Regions from separate parts of the Homo sapiens genome. Here region 2 is linked to region 1. The links are contacts of gene promoters, found by promoter capture Hi-C in blood cells and fetal thymus (Javierre and others, 2016). All regions are on one chromosome and are shown on one strand. Each heading gives the region's core, a stretch centred on a gene start or on the middle of the fragment in contact. The rest is flanking DNA. Distances are from core to core; before and after follow the strand shown.

Evidence for each region. Contacts are between HindIII fragments. The CHiCAGO score rates a contact against its expected background, and 5 or more counts as called.
Region 2: the fragment with the promoter of LRRC47 here is called in contact with the fragment with the promoter of DNAJC11 in region 1 in 1 of 17 cell types (neutrophils); the score reaches 5.7 in neutrophils.

What each region holds. Positions count from the first base shown.
Region 1 is chr1:6,699,299-6,705,571 of GRCh38, forward strand. DNAJC11 (DnaJ heat shock protein family (Hsp40) member C11) reads right to left here and starts at 2,518. Exons shown (of 16, transcript NM_018198.4): 1 at 2,431-2,518. The coding sequence starts at 2,502. RefSeq lists a silencer at 2,305-2,754. The HindIII fragment of the contact is 16,969 bases long and covers 1-4,029 here.
Region 2 is chr1:3,793,959-3,800,231 of GRCh38, forward strand. LRRC47 (leucine rich repeat containing 47) reads right to left here and starts at 2,540. Exons shown (of 7, transcript NM_020710.3): 1 at 1,904-2,540. The coding sequence starts at 2,518. RefSeq lists enhancers at 1-86, 2,427-2,721 and a silencer at 2,102-2,311. The HindIII fragment of the contact is 14,897 bases long and covers 1-6,273 here.

The sequences.
Region 1 (6,273 bases), core at 1,268-3,767:
AACAAACAAACAAAATTTCTTTGGCTCCCATCCGTAAGTCCAAAAACAATGACAGGCTCTACAGTTTCAGCAGTTTCAAGGTATACCTTTGACAAAATCTTCACCTAGGACTCTGGCTAAAACTATTACTCTAGACCTGCTTGATCATCTGCAGCAGCTGCCTACGGTTCAGTACGCCTGATAAATGGCTGCTCAATTACTGACAACCCAGACTAAGTACGAATGATTTCAGAAAGGCTGGCTTCATTTATTGCTTGACTTCTAAAAACTGGAAAAAAAGTATAACTAGCCAGACATCTTCATTTAAAGGGAAAGAGACTTAAGGCTAAATAAGTGATTAGCCCATTAAAACCTAGATGATGGGTTGATGGGTGCAGCAAACCACCATGGCTCATGTTTACCTATGTAACAAACCTGCACGTTCTGCACATGTATCCTGGAACTTAAAGTATAATTTAAAAAAAAAAGGAAAAAAAGGAGTGATTAGCCCGAAGTGTTGATTAATGAGAACAAGAACCCCCAGGTGCCCTATGGCAGCCTAACAAAATCTGCAATTCCCAAAGATATTTCACTGGACATTCTCATAGTACAGTGGCCCATACATTCGAGGGATTCTTTCATGAGGTGCTCAGTATCAAGCCTCTGAGCCCAAGCTAAGCCATCATATCCCCTATGACCTGCACATATACATCCAGATGGCCTGAAGCAACTGAAGATCCACAAAAGAAGTGAAAATAGCCAGGTCCTGCCTTAACTGAAGATATTCCACCATGGTGATTTACTCCTGCCCCACCCTAACTGGTCAATTGGCCTTATGACAATACACGCTCCCCGCCCTTGTGATAATGTACTTTGTGATATTCCGCCCTTAAGAAGGTACTTTGTAATATTCTCCCCACTCTTGAGAATGTACTTTGTGAGATCCACCCCCTGCCCACAAAAAATTGCTCCTAACTCCACCGCCTATCCCAAACCTATAAGAACTAATGATAATCCCACCACCCTTTGCTGACTCTCTTTTCGGACTCAGCCCATACGCACCCAGGTGATTAAAAAGGTTTATTGCTCACACAAAGCCTGTTTGGTGGTCTCTTCACACGGACGCGCGTGACACTCAAGGATACAGTACCAGAACTAGCAGCTTTGTAGTCCAAGGACTGGTAAGGTAAGGTGACAGACTAGCATGGAGCTCACAAGCTGGGCTCCAGAGTCAGACTGCCTGGGTTGAGTTCAGGCTCTTGCACTTTCTAGTAGTGTGACTTTAGACACACTACTTAATCTCTCTATGCCTTGGTTTCCTCAAGTGTAAATCAAGGGCTATCATAATACTTACCTTAAGAGCTATCCTCAGAATTAAATGAGATAACAGTACAAAGTTCATTCAGCATAGTGGTCCCACACAAGATAAGTTTGTATTATTAACATCACATAGACTAATATTTACTGACAACACACACTGAACCCGCTTTGGTTAGCATAGCCAAACTTGGCTAGCTTTCATTACCACTGGAAAACCTGAGAGATGGAATTAGGAATTCTCTGGCAGGGCTGAAAAGTCTGGACCCATCGGCTTAAAGAAACTGATCCACCTCATGACCTGACCCTGGAAGCCTTCTCGCCCTTCACACCTATCTCAACTCCAGACTAGTCAAGAACAAAGGAGTGTAGTGGGGCCCTACTACTGCCAGGCTATGTGAGACTCTCTCATGTTATCTTTTATTCGTTGAGGAGACAGGGTACAAGTGCTTGGTGTGAATGTTGAAGCTGTTGTTAGGGCACCACTTTTCTGGCCTAGGGCTTCTTCCTAATCTGCAGCCTCCGAGCCGAGGGTCTGTGTCCCGGAGGCTCTGCCTGCAATTTCTGGACATCGGGTCCAGGGGAATGAAAGAGGGCATGAGACGCATGCCTCTGAGGCTGGACCCACTTCAGAGGCAGAGCGTCCCCACGAAAGACTCGGGAACCGGAAAAAGCCCTAAGGACGTTCCCTAGTGGCCTTGACCTTGGTGGGTGAGACTCAGTTCGCCATCCTGCTGGCGGCGGGCGATGACACAGCCCCTCAGCCAGGACGAGTATGTGGGCTGAGCGCGAGACGGGGTCTCGGAGGACTGCTAACCCCACTACGGTGGCCTCCTCGGGGCCCCCGTTTCCTCTTGAGCGTGCGGGGGCCTCTGGCCCTACCCGGACACAGTGCACGCGGCGCACTGGCCTTCAGGAGCTGGGGCGGAGGCTGGCCCCGGAACCCCCGGCGGGAGGGTCTGGGCGGTGGGGACGCCTCCATCGGGCGGCTGGCGTGCACGTCGCCGGGGTCACGCGGCCTCCCCGACGGACCCGAGCCTCCCGTGGCGGGGGTGGGGCGGCCACCGCCAGCCCGGCCCTCCCGAACGACCGGGCTCGGCCTCAGCCCCCAGAGCGTCCAGCCGCTGGCCTCACCTCCCTGCGCACGTTCAGCAACGAGTAATAGTCTTCATTGTCCAGCTCCTCCTCGCTCAAGGCCGTCGCCATCTTCGCAACCTTTCACCCCGCCAAACCGGCAAGGCCGTGCTCAAGAGGGGCCAGTGATCCGCGTCAGGGACAGCGCGGGCCAGCCCGGCTGCGCCACAGCGGCCCCTGGCGGCCCGGAGCCGTCCGCGCCCGGCGGGAGTGCGCCTGCGCTTTGCGCCCCCGCGCGGCCTAGGGCGGGACGCGGCGCCTAGGCAGCCCTGGCGGGGTGACCACGCGGGTGTCTCTTCGTGCTCCCAATGGACGCGTGGCACGCGGCGTGGCTGCGTCCTCGGGGGCCTGAGATCCAGCCAGGACTCCCTAGGGCTTTTCCTGTACTAGAAAGGGAAACTTTGCTTTTTTTTTTTTTTTTTGAGACGGAGTCATACTCTGTCGCCCAGCCTGGTGTGTGTGCAGTGGCGCAATCCCGGCTCACTGAAGCCTCCACCTCCCGGGTTCAAGCGATTCTCCTGCCTCAGCCTCCCGAGTAGCTGGGACTCCAGGCGCGCGCCACCACGCCCAGTTAATTTTTTTGTATTTTTGGTAGAGACACGGTTTCACCATGTTGGCCAGGCTGGTCTGAGGCTCCTGAACTCAGGAGATCCTCGGCCTCCCAAAGTGCTGGGATTACAGGCATGAGCCACCGCGTCCTGCCTAGAAAGGGAAACTTTGAAGTCACCTCCAGGAGATTGTCATCCTCTGGGAGACAAACCCCTGTGATACCACCTGTTACCCCACTGGCCCCAAACTCCTGGAAGAAGCGCGAGGTGCCCCCAGTGCAGGGTGCATCCGGATCCTAGATATCCCCCAAATGACATTTGTTCCTACCTCCATTGTCTTTTCTCTTGGCCACCCAGAAGCCTTCCTGCCCAGAACAGGCCTCCTCATTTTAGTTATTTGTTATTGCTCTAATTTAGGAGCACCTGGCCATCTTTTCTGCTGCTTAAATGACAAAGCAATAACTATTTGGTTCCTGATATAATTGTCTCTGGCAGGCATGTGTACCTGCAGTCCCTACCCCAGAGCCATTCTCCTGTAAATTTCTCCCTTATAATTTATCGGTGGAGTCTAATTGATTTCAACCTGGTGCCTGCTGTTTGGTGCATTATTAAAGATGTCTTGGTTACAACAATCTAAATAATTTAAAGGTCTTCGAAATGACGCCATTGTCAAGGGAAGGTGGACAGCAGCCCACTCTTGCCACCTGTTTGGTTCCCGCTGACCTGCGCAAGTCTCAGAAACCTTTGTTGTTCCTTCACTAACCACCAGTCCATAGCCATCCCCGTTGCCCTTCATAAGCAGGTCTCCTGGGAAGCCCCGAACACCTGTCTGTGGATTTGAGAGGCTGATTTCTTTCTCTTTCTAATTTTTGGCCAGATGTGCACCATCTGGGCCTGTGTCTCATCCCTTCCAAGTTGCCCAGCCCTCTTAGGATCTTTTGGCATGAGACACTTCGGTGTGCTGAGACAGATTGTTCGGGTGGGTTGAGTCAGCCTGAAACAAACTGTCAGCCCAGGTTGTAAATTAAGGGCTATTTCTTTAGTTGTGTGAAGCTTCTCCACAACAGCTTCCATGGTCCATCAGCTCTTCCAGCAATGTTATGGGCTTTGCCTTTTTCTCCTTTGCAGAGAAAAGAGCTGTGGTTAGGGCCAAACTGCATGCTGACATTTGACAGTCTTTAAGAATTTCTTTCTTTTTTTTTTTTTTTGTTTGAGACAGAGTCTCACTCGGTCGCCCAGGCTGGAGTGCAGTGCCACGATCTTGGCTCACTGCAACCTCCGCCTCCCGGGTTCAAGCGATTCTCCTGCCTCAGCCTCCCAAGCAGCTGGGACTACAGGCGTGCGCCATCACGCCCAGCTAATTTTTGTATTTTTAGTAGAGACGGGGTTTCACCATATTGGCCAGGCTGGTCTCGAACTCCTGACCTCGTGATCCACCTGCCTCGGCCTCCCAAAGTGCTGGGATTACAGGCGTGAGCCACCGCACCCGGCCAAGAATTTCATACAGAGAGACTGGGGGTAAAAACAACAATGTGGAGACATTCCTTTTTCCCTTAGGTTTTTTTTTCTTTTTTCTTTTTTCTTTTTTTTTTGAGATGGAGTCTCGCTCTGTCGCCCAGGCTGGAGTGCAGTGGCACGATCTCGGCTCACTGCAAGCTCCACCTCCCGGGTTCATGCCATTCTCCTGCCTCAGCCTACTGAGTAGCTGGGACTACAGGCGCCTGCCACCACGCCTGGCTAATTTTTTTTTTTTGTATTTTTAATAGAGATGGGGTTTCACCATGTTAGCCAGGATGGTCTTGGTCTCCTGACCTAGTAATCCACCTGCCTCGGCCTCCCAAAGTGCTGGGATTACAGGCGTGAGCCACCGCGCCCGGCCTCCTTAGGTTTGTAGACATTAATTGGGCCATAATGCTTACTTGGGTAGAGAAGTTCTTTGCCATCCCTCCTCTGCTTTGGAAAACACAGCCTCTAGGAATTATATAAATGGAACATAACATATGTTTCACTACGCCCAGGTCTGTGTTTCTATGATTGAGAATGACCTGGTTTTTATCACCACTCAAACAAGATAAATAGTGACTCAGGAATGCTCTGTGGCTGTCCTCTCTTGGGCCCACGAGATTTTGTGTTATGGTTACTTGGAAAGTGGTGGTGATAAATAGAAAGCTAACTTAGATGCTCCACAGGCTTGAGGAATGTATCTGTTTCTGAGGCTGGCTCTCTCGTTTCTCTCCTCCAAAACCCTAATCTTCAACGGGCAAAATAATGGAAACCAAAGGCAGTACAAATTTATAAGTTAAAAACGCACATCCAACAAACTACTTACGCCGAGCAACTGACAAAACCCAGCTGCTTTAACTCATGCCTTGCACTTTGTTTTCTTTTTCTTTTCTCTTTCTTTTTTTTTTTTTTGAGACGGGGTCTCCCTCTGTCACCCAGGCTGCAGTACAGTGGTGCAATCATGGCTTGCTGCAGCCTCCACCTCTTCAAGCTTAGGTAATTCTCCCACCTCAGCCTCCATAGTAGCTAGGACTACAGGTGCCCGCCACCATACCTGGTTAAGCTTTGTATTTTTTGTAGAGACAGGGTCTTGCTACATTGCAGGGCTGGTCTGGAACTCCCGTCTCAAGTGATCTGCCCGCCTCAGCCTCTCAAAGTGCTGAGATGACAGGTGTGAGCCACCGTGCCTGGCCTTTTGGTTTCTTTTTGTTGGGTGAAACCACAAAACAGTCTGTAACATAGCTGTAAAGCAAAACTTAATAGGTGACATTTAAATATAAACTGATGTAATATATTTATGTAACTATACATACATGGGCATATGTATTTTATATTTACGCAAATATTATATGAGATATACGCATTTATGCAACTGCTAACAAATTCTCTCATCTTTATTTTATTTATTCTTTTGAGACAGAGTCTCACTCTGTTGCCCAGGCTGGAGTGCAGTGACATGATCTCTGCTCACCACAACCTCCACCTCCTGGGTTCAAGTGATTCTCATACCTCAGCCTCCCGAGTAGATGGGATTACAGGCATGTGCCACCACGCCCAGCTAATTTTTGTATTTTTAGTAAAGACAGGGTTTTGCCATGTTGGACAGGCTGGTCTTGAACTCCTGACCTCAAGTGATCTGATCACCTTGGCCACCCAAAGTGCTGGGATTACAGGTGTGAGCCACTGCACCCAGCCAATTTTTTTTTTTTAAGGTGGAGTCTCACTCTGTCTCTCAGGCTGGAGTGCAGTGGCACAGTCTTGGCTCACTGCAACCTTGGCTTCCTGGGTTCAA
Region 2 (6,273 bases), core at 1,290-3,789, 2.9 Mb before region 1:
GCCAAGACAGGCAGATCATGAGGTCAGGAGATCGAGACCATCCTGGCTAACACAGTGAAACTCCATCTCTACTAAAAATACGAAAAATTAGCTGGGTGTTGTGGCGGGCGCTTGTAGTCCCAGCTACTCGGGAGGCTGAGGCAGGAGAATGGCGTGAACCCGGGAGGCGGAGCTTGCAGTGAGCCAAGGTTGCACCACTGCACACCAGCCTGGGAGACAGAGCGAGACTCCATCTCAAACAACAATAATAATAACAGTAAAACTCCAGTCTCCACTTTAGCTGGCTCTACATGTGTAAAACTTTCTCTATTGCAACCCTCCTGCCCTGATAAATCAGCTCTATCCGGGTAGTGGATAAAATGAACCCATTGGGCAGTTACATCAGTAACCATGTGTCACTCTACAGTGGGTTTGTTTTTTTTGCCACAGGGTCTCGCTCTGTTCAGGCTGGTATCACAGCTCACTGCAACCTCCACTTCCTGGGCTCAAGTGATCCTCCCACCTCAGCCTCCCGAGTAGCTGGGACTACAGGCACGCGCCACCAGGCCCAGCTAATTTTTGTATTTTTGTAGAGATGGGGTTTCACCATGTTGGCCAGGCTGGTGGTGTGACCTCAAGCGATCTGCCCGCCTCAGCTTCCCAAAGTGCTGGGATTACAGGTGTGAGCCACCGCGCCCGGCCAGGGTTTGTCTATATATCCTTATATAGATATGTTACTTGTAAAATGAGTTGCAATGTCTTGAGGAATTGCTACAGCAAATAAATAGATAAGCTGCTAAAGTGTATACGTATTTTATTAAGAAATGTCCACATAGGCCAGGCGCGGTGGCTCACACCTGTAATCCTAGCACTTTGGAAGGCCGAGACAGGCGGATCACATGAGGTCAGGAGTTCGAGACCAGCCTGACCAACACAGTGAAACCCGTCTCTACTAAAAACACAAAAGTTAGCCGGGCGTGGTGGTGTGCGCCTGTAAGCCCAGCTACTCAGGAGGCTGAGGCAGAAGAACCGCTTGAACCCGGGAGGCGGAGGTTGAAGTGAGCCGAGATCGCGCCACTGCACTCCAGCCTGGGTGACAGGACCAGACTACATCTCAAAAAAAAAAAAAAAAAAAAGAAATGTCTGCATAAATTCAAAGACGAAAAATGGGGGAAGAAATGCAGGACTGCCTTAAGGATGAAACCAAAAGAGAAGATGGAGAGAACATCTGGCTGGGTTTAGGTCGTGGTTCTGCCATGTGGCTTCCCTACTTTCTTTTAGGCAACAGATTCAATGGGCACCTGTTATAGGCCAAGCATTATCGCGGGGCCTGGGGATCCAAGATTAATTAGTAAACAGACGCTGGACAATATAGTCTGGAGAAAAACCCAAGTTACCTGCTGCTTACTTTGGGCAGGCCCTTTGGCTTTCTGTAAAACAGGAATAACCACCCCTACCTTGGAAAGCTGCTATTAGGATGAAGTGAAATATAATCTTCAAGATCACAGCATGTGGCATTATGCAAAATCCAGGGTGCCCCCTTCACCACCAGACTCACTCTCAAGTCACTTCACAAGTACTAGATACAAAAAAGACAGGTCTCTACGCTCGATCTACAGGAGAAGCCAGGTTTGCTAACAATTACAAAATAGCGTACCACGTGTAAAAGTCCAGTTAACAGAATGCGGGGGAGTTCAGAGGCCACCTAGTATGTTGGTGTGGCCAGGAGAAGGGGGAGTTGGAAGGCGGCATCTGCTTCCCAGGGGTGATGCCCCCCGCAGCTGGCTCCTTTCAGCCTTGTAGGAATTCCCTGGGCCCAGTGCCCCAGGGGGCGTCACTAGGAACTGCTCGGCCCCGAGAGGGGTTCCTTCTCCAGGGCTACTCCAAGGCCCCATCCCGCCCCGCCCGGGCAGCCCCCGCTGACCTTGAGCGAGGCCAGGTGGGCGATGTCGGGGCTGAGTTCTCGGAGGCAGTTGTCAGCAGCCGCCAGTTCACTGAGCAGGGGCAGCGCGCCGGGGCGAAAGAGCTCGGCGGGAAAGGAGTCTAGGCAATTGCCGGTGAGGTTGAGGCTCTGCAGGCGCGGGGCGCAGCGCGCCAGGTCGGCTGGCAGCTCGCGCAGCCGGTTGCCGCTGAGGTTGAGGCTCTGCAGCTGCGGAAGGCCCGGCGGCTCGGCGGGGCCCAGGCCTTGGCCCGGCGGCAGCGCCTCCAGCGCGTTGCCCGACAGGTCGAGCACCCGAAGGGCAGGCAGCGGCCCGAGCTCGGGGCTCAGGCCGGGCCCCAGCGCGTTGCGCCGCAGCACGAGGCTGTGCAGCTGCGGCAGGCCCTGCGCCAGGCCAGGCCCCGGCGCGCGCAAGCTCCCGCAGCCGCTCACTTCCAAGTAGTGCAGCAGCGGCAGGGTGAAAAGCCGCGGCGGCAGCTGCCCACCCGCCGCCCGCACTCGCTCCTCCAGCCCGGGCCCCGTCAGCAGCAGCTCCCGCCGCCGCTCGCGCTCAGCCAGCTCCAGCTCCGGCCAAGACTCTGACACCGCTGCCGCCGCCATGGCGCCTCAGCTGCTGGCAGGCACCCACCCACCAGGGTGCTTCCGGGGCAGCGCGCGCCACTTCCGACCTGTGCCGGAAAAGCCCATAGAGAAGCCACCTGGCTGCTAGAGTGCCGCCGCGCGTGCCATAGAGGAGAGTGGCCTCTCCTGCGTAGAGCCGGGGAGGGGCTGGAGAGCGGCTCGCTCTCTCCGCGGGTAGGGGTGAGGGTGGGGGTTATGAACCCAAAAATATCTGAGACAGGACTCAATGAAATGTAAAAAGTTTATTTTGCCAAGGTTAAGGACACGCCAGTGTCACAACCCTAGGAGATCGTGACGATGGTGCCCAGGGAAGTTGGGATGCAGCTTGGTTTTGTACATTTTGGGGAGACGTGAGACATCAATCAACACGTGCGAGTGTACCTTGGTTCAGCCCAGAAAGGCTGGACAATTCCAGGAGAGGGCTTTCAGGTCACAGGTAGAGAAGAGACCGGAGGGTGCATTCTTTTGAGTCTTTGTTCAGCCTTTCGCTGACTGCACAATTTATTATGCATGTGAGACGCGGGTAGAGGAATAGTCGCTTATGCTTTAGTCTGGCTTACTGAATCTTCATTTCTACGTAAACAGTAGAGCAAAGGAAGCGATCAGATATGCATTTGTCTAGGTGAGCAGAGGGATGGCTTTGAGTTCAGTCCTTTGTCTCGCACCTGTGAAGGGAAGCTATCAATTTGCATTGCCAGGGTGAAATTCAACAGAACTGTTTTAGGGTAAAGATCTTGAGGCCCACAGAGAATTTCTTTGTGGGCAAATTGTGAGGGAGGTGTGTAGCTTTAAAAATATGTATTTGTAACTATCTTATTTAGGAATAAGACGGGAGGCCGATTTGCCCGAAGCAGTTCCCAGCTTGACTTTTTCCTTTGACTTAGTGATTGTGGGGTTTTGAGATTTATTTTCCTTTCACAGGGTGGGGTGCGGGCGGATGGAGGAGCCAGAGTCTGTGCTCTACTGTGCCCCGACCGGCTTGTTTTGGAATTCCTGCACTTTTGAGTGGTGTAAACCAAAACCAAAATTCTTTTTTTTTTCTTGAGACGGAGTCTCGCTCTGTCACCCAGGCTGGAGTGCAGTGATGCTATCTTGGTTCACTGCAACCTCCGCCTCCTGGGTTCAAGCAATTCTCCTGCCTCAGCCTCCCGCTGGAACTACAGGTGCATGCCACCGTGGCCGGTTAATTTTTATATTAACCGTGTTAATATAATTTTTATATTAACCGGTTTTCGCCATGTTGGCCAGGCTGGTCTCGAACACCTGACCTCAGGTGATCTGCTCGCCTCAGCCCCCCAAAGTGCTGGGCTCACAGGCACAAGCCACCGCACCCAGCCCCCAAATTCTTATTTATTTATTTATTTATTTATTGAGACAGAGTCTTGCTCTGTTACCCAGGCTGGAGTGCAGTGGTTCCAGCTCGGCTCATTGCAGCCTCAACTTCCCTGGCTCCAGTGATCCTCCCACCTCAGCCCCTGAGTAGCTGGTACCACAGGCATGTGCCACCACGCCTGGCTAATTTTTGTATTTTTTGTAGAGCTGGGGTTTTGCCATGTTGCCTAGGCTGGTCTCAAACCCATGAACTCAAGCAATCCACCTGCCTCAACCTCCCAAATTGCTAGGATTACAGGTGTGAGTCACCAAACCTGGCCAAAAAATAAAATTCTAGAGGCTGGGCACGGTGGCTCATGCCTGTAATCCCAGCACTTTGGAAGGCCGAGGCGGGCGGATCACCAGGTCAGGAGATCGAGACCATCCTGGTGAACACGGTGAAACCCCGTCTCTACTAAAAATACAAAAAAAATTAGCCGGGCTTGGTGGCAGGCGCCTGTAGTCCCAGCTACTCGGGAGGCTGAGGCAGGAGAATGGCAAGAACCCAGAGGGCGGAGCTTGCAGTGAGCGGAGATTGCGCCACTGCACTCCAGCCTGGGCGACAGAGTGAGACTCCGTCTCAAAATAAATAAATAAAAATAAAATAAAATTCTAAGCCCCCCAACCATCTGAGTGGACCCCTCCTCTGGGCCAAGGGCATTCCCTAGTTAATCTGAAAAACTAGTTCAGGCCATGATGGGAAGGGTCGGATGTGGAGGGGTAGGGGTTGGACATGCCTCATTATATTCTCCTCCCTTTGGGAATTCAGGCCCACCTGACCATCATTAATATCAACACAGACTTTAAGACTGACAAAGCCAGGCCAGGTGTGGTGGCTCATGGCTGTAATCCCAGCACTTTGAGAGGCCATGGCGGGTGGATCACTTGAGGTCAGGAGTTTGAGACCAGCCTGACCAACATGGTGAAAACCCATCCCTACTAAAAATACAAAAATTAGCTGGGCATGGTGGCGGGCGCCTGTAATCCAAGCTACTCGGGAGGCTGAGGCAGGAGAATTGCTTAAACCTAGGAGGCGGAGGTTGCAGTGAGCCAAGATTGCACCACTGCATTCCAGCCTGGGTGACAGAGCGAGACTCCATCTCAAAATAACAACAACAATAAAAGACTGACAAAGCTGACTCTTTGTAGCAATGATACCAAATTCTAGCCTGTTTCTAGTAGAGCATTATGTGACTGATCAAGGCCCTGAAGGAAATTGAAGTATTTTACCCCAAATTATATTTCCTTGCTGTATCTTAAAACAATCCTGCAAGGCTGCCTATTGTGGGGGAAATCCACATTCTGAAGATAGTATCCTTGCTTTGCTAGGCCTTTTTCCTGATCCAGGAGAGAATCAACTCTGATAATAAATAAATAAACAAAGAAAAAAACAAAAACCATTTACAGGCCGGGCGCGGTGGCTCACTCCTGTAATCCCAACACTTTGGGAGGCTGAGGCAGGCGGATCACCTGAGGTCAGGAGTTCAAGACCAGCCTGGCCAACATGGTGAAACCCCGTCTTAACTAAAAATACAAAAATTAGCCAGGTGGGGTGGTGGGCGCCCGTGATCCCAGCTACTTGGAGGCTAGGGCAGGAGCTTCAACCCAGGAGGCAGAAGTTGCACTGAGCTGAAATTGCACCATTACACTCCAGCCTGGGCAACAGAGGGAGGCTCCATCTCAAAAAAAAAAAAAAAAAAAAAAAAAAAAAAAAAAGAACTTCCAGGGGCTAATTTTGAAGGAAACCAGGCTCAGAGACCCAGATGTGGATCCTACTGCTCTGGGGCAGTTAGGAAGAGTGAGCCCACCACTACTGGGCCAAAGTCAGGATGATGCAAGCTGGACCTTCAGACAGGGTGTTACTCGAGATCACCTTCGGAACAAGACATGCAGCCCTGCACCCCCCTGCACCCCCTTGCACCCTTCTGCATCCTCCTGCACCACCCCCACATGTTTCCCACACCAAGTTTTCCTTCCAAAACCTCTCACTCAGCCCAGAAGACAGAGGGTCTCTTGGAGGCATGAGCCCAGCCATGTCCCATCGGCTGGCATTTGTTTAATAAACGGCTTTCCTTCCACCACACCTCGCTTCTCATGTTTTTGGTCTTTGAGCAGCCACGCTTGAGCTGGTTGCAGATCTGGTGCCTTGTGTGAGGCACTGTGTTGTGAGTGGCTCAGCCTGTGTACCTGGTTTCCAATGAAGGCAGAGATTGGCCACAGCAGTCCCAGGATTTACCCACTCTTGCTGTCAGGCAGGACAGCAGCTGCTTGAAAATGCCAGCTGCTCATGGCCAGCTGACCCCAAGGCTAGGACCTTAGGGAATTCCTAGTGGCTGCCGAGACTGCCTTTGTCTTGGGGATTT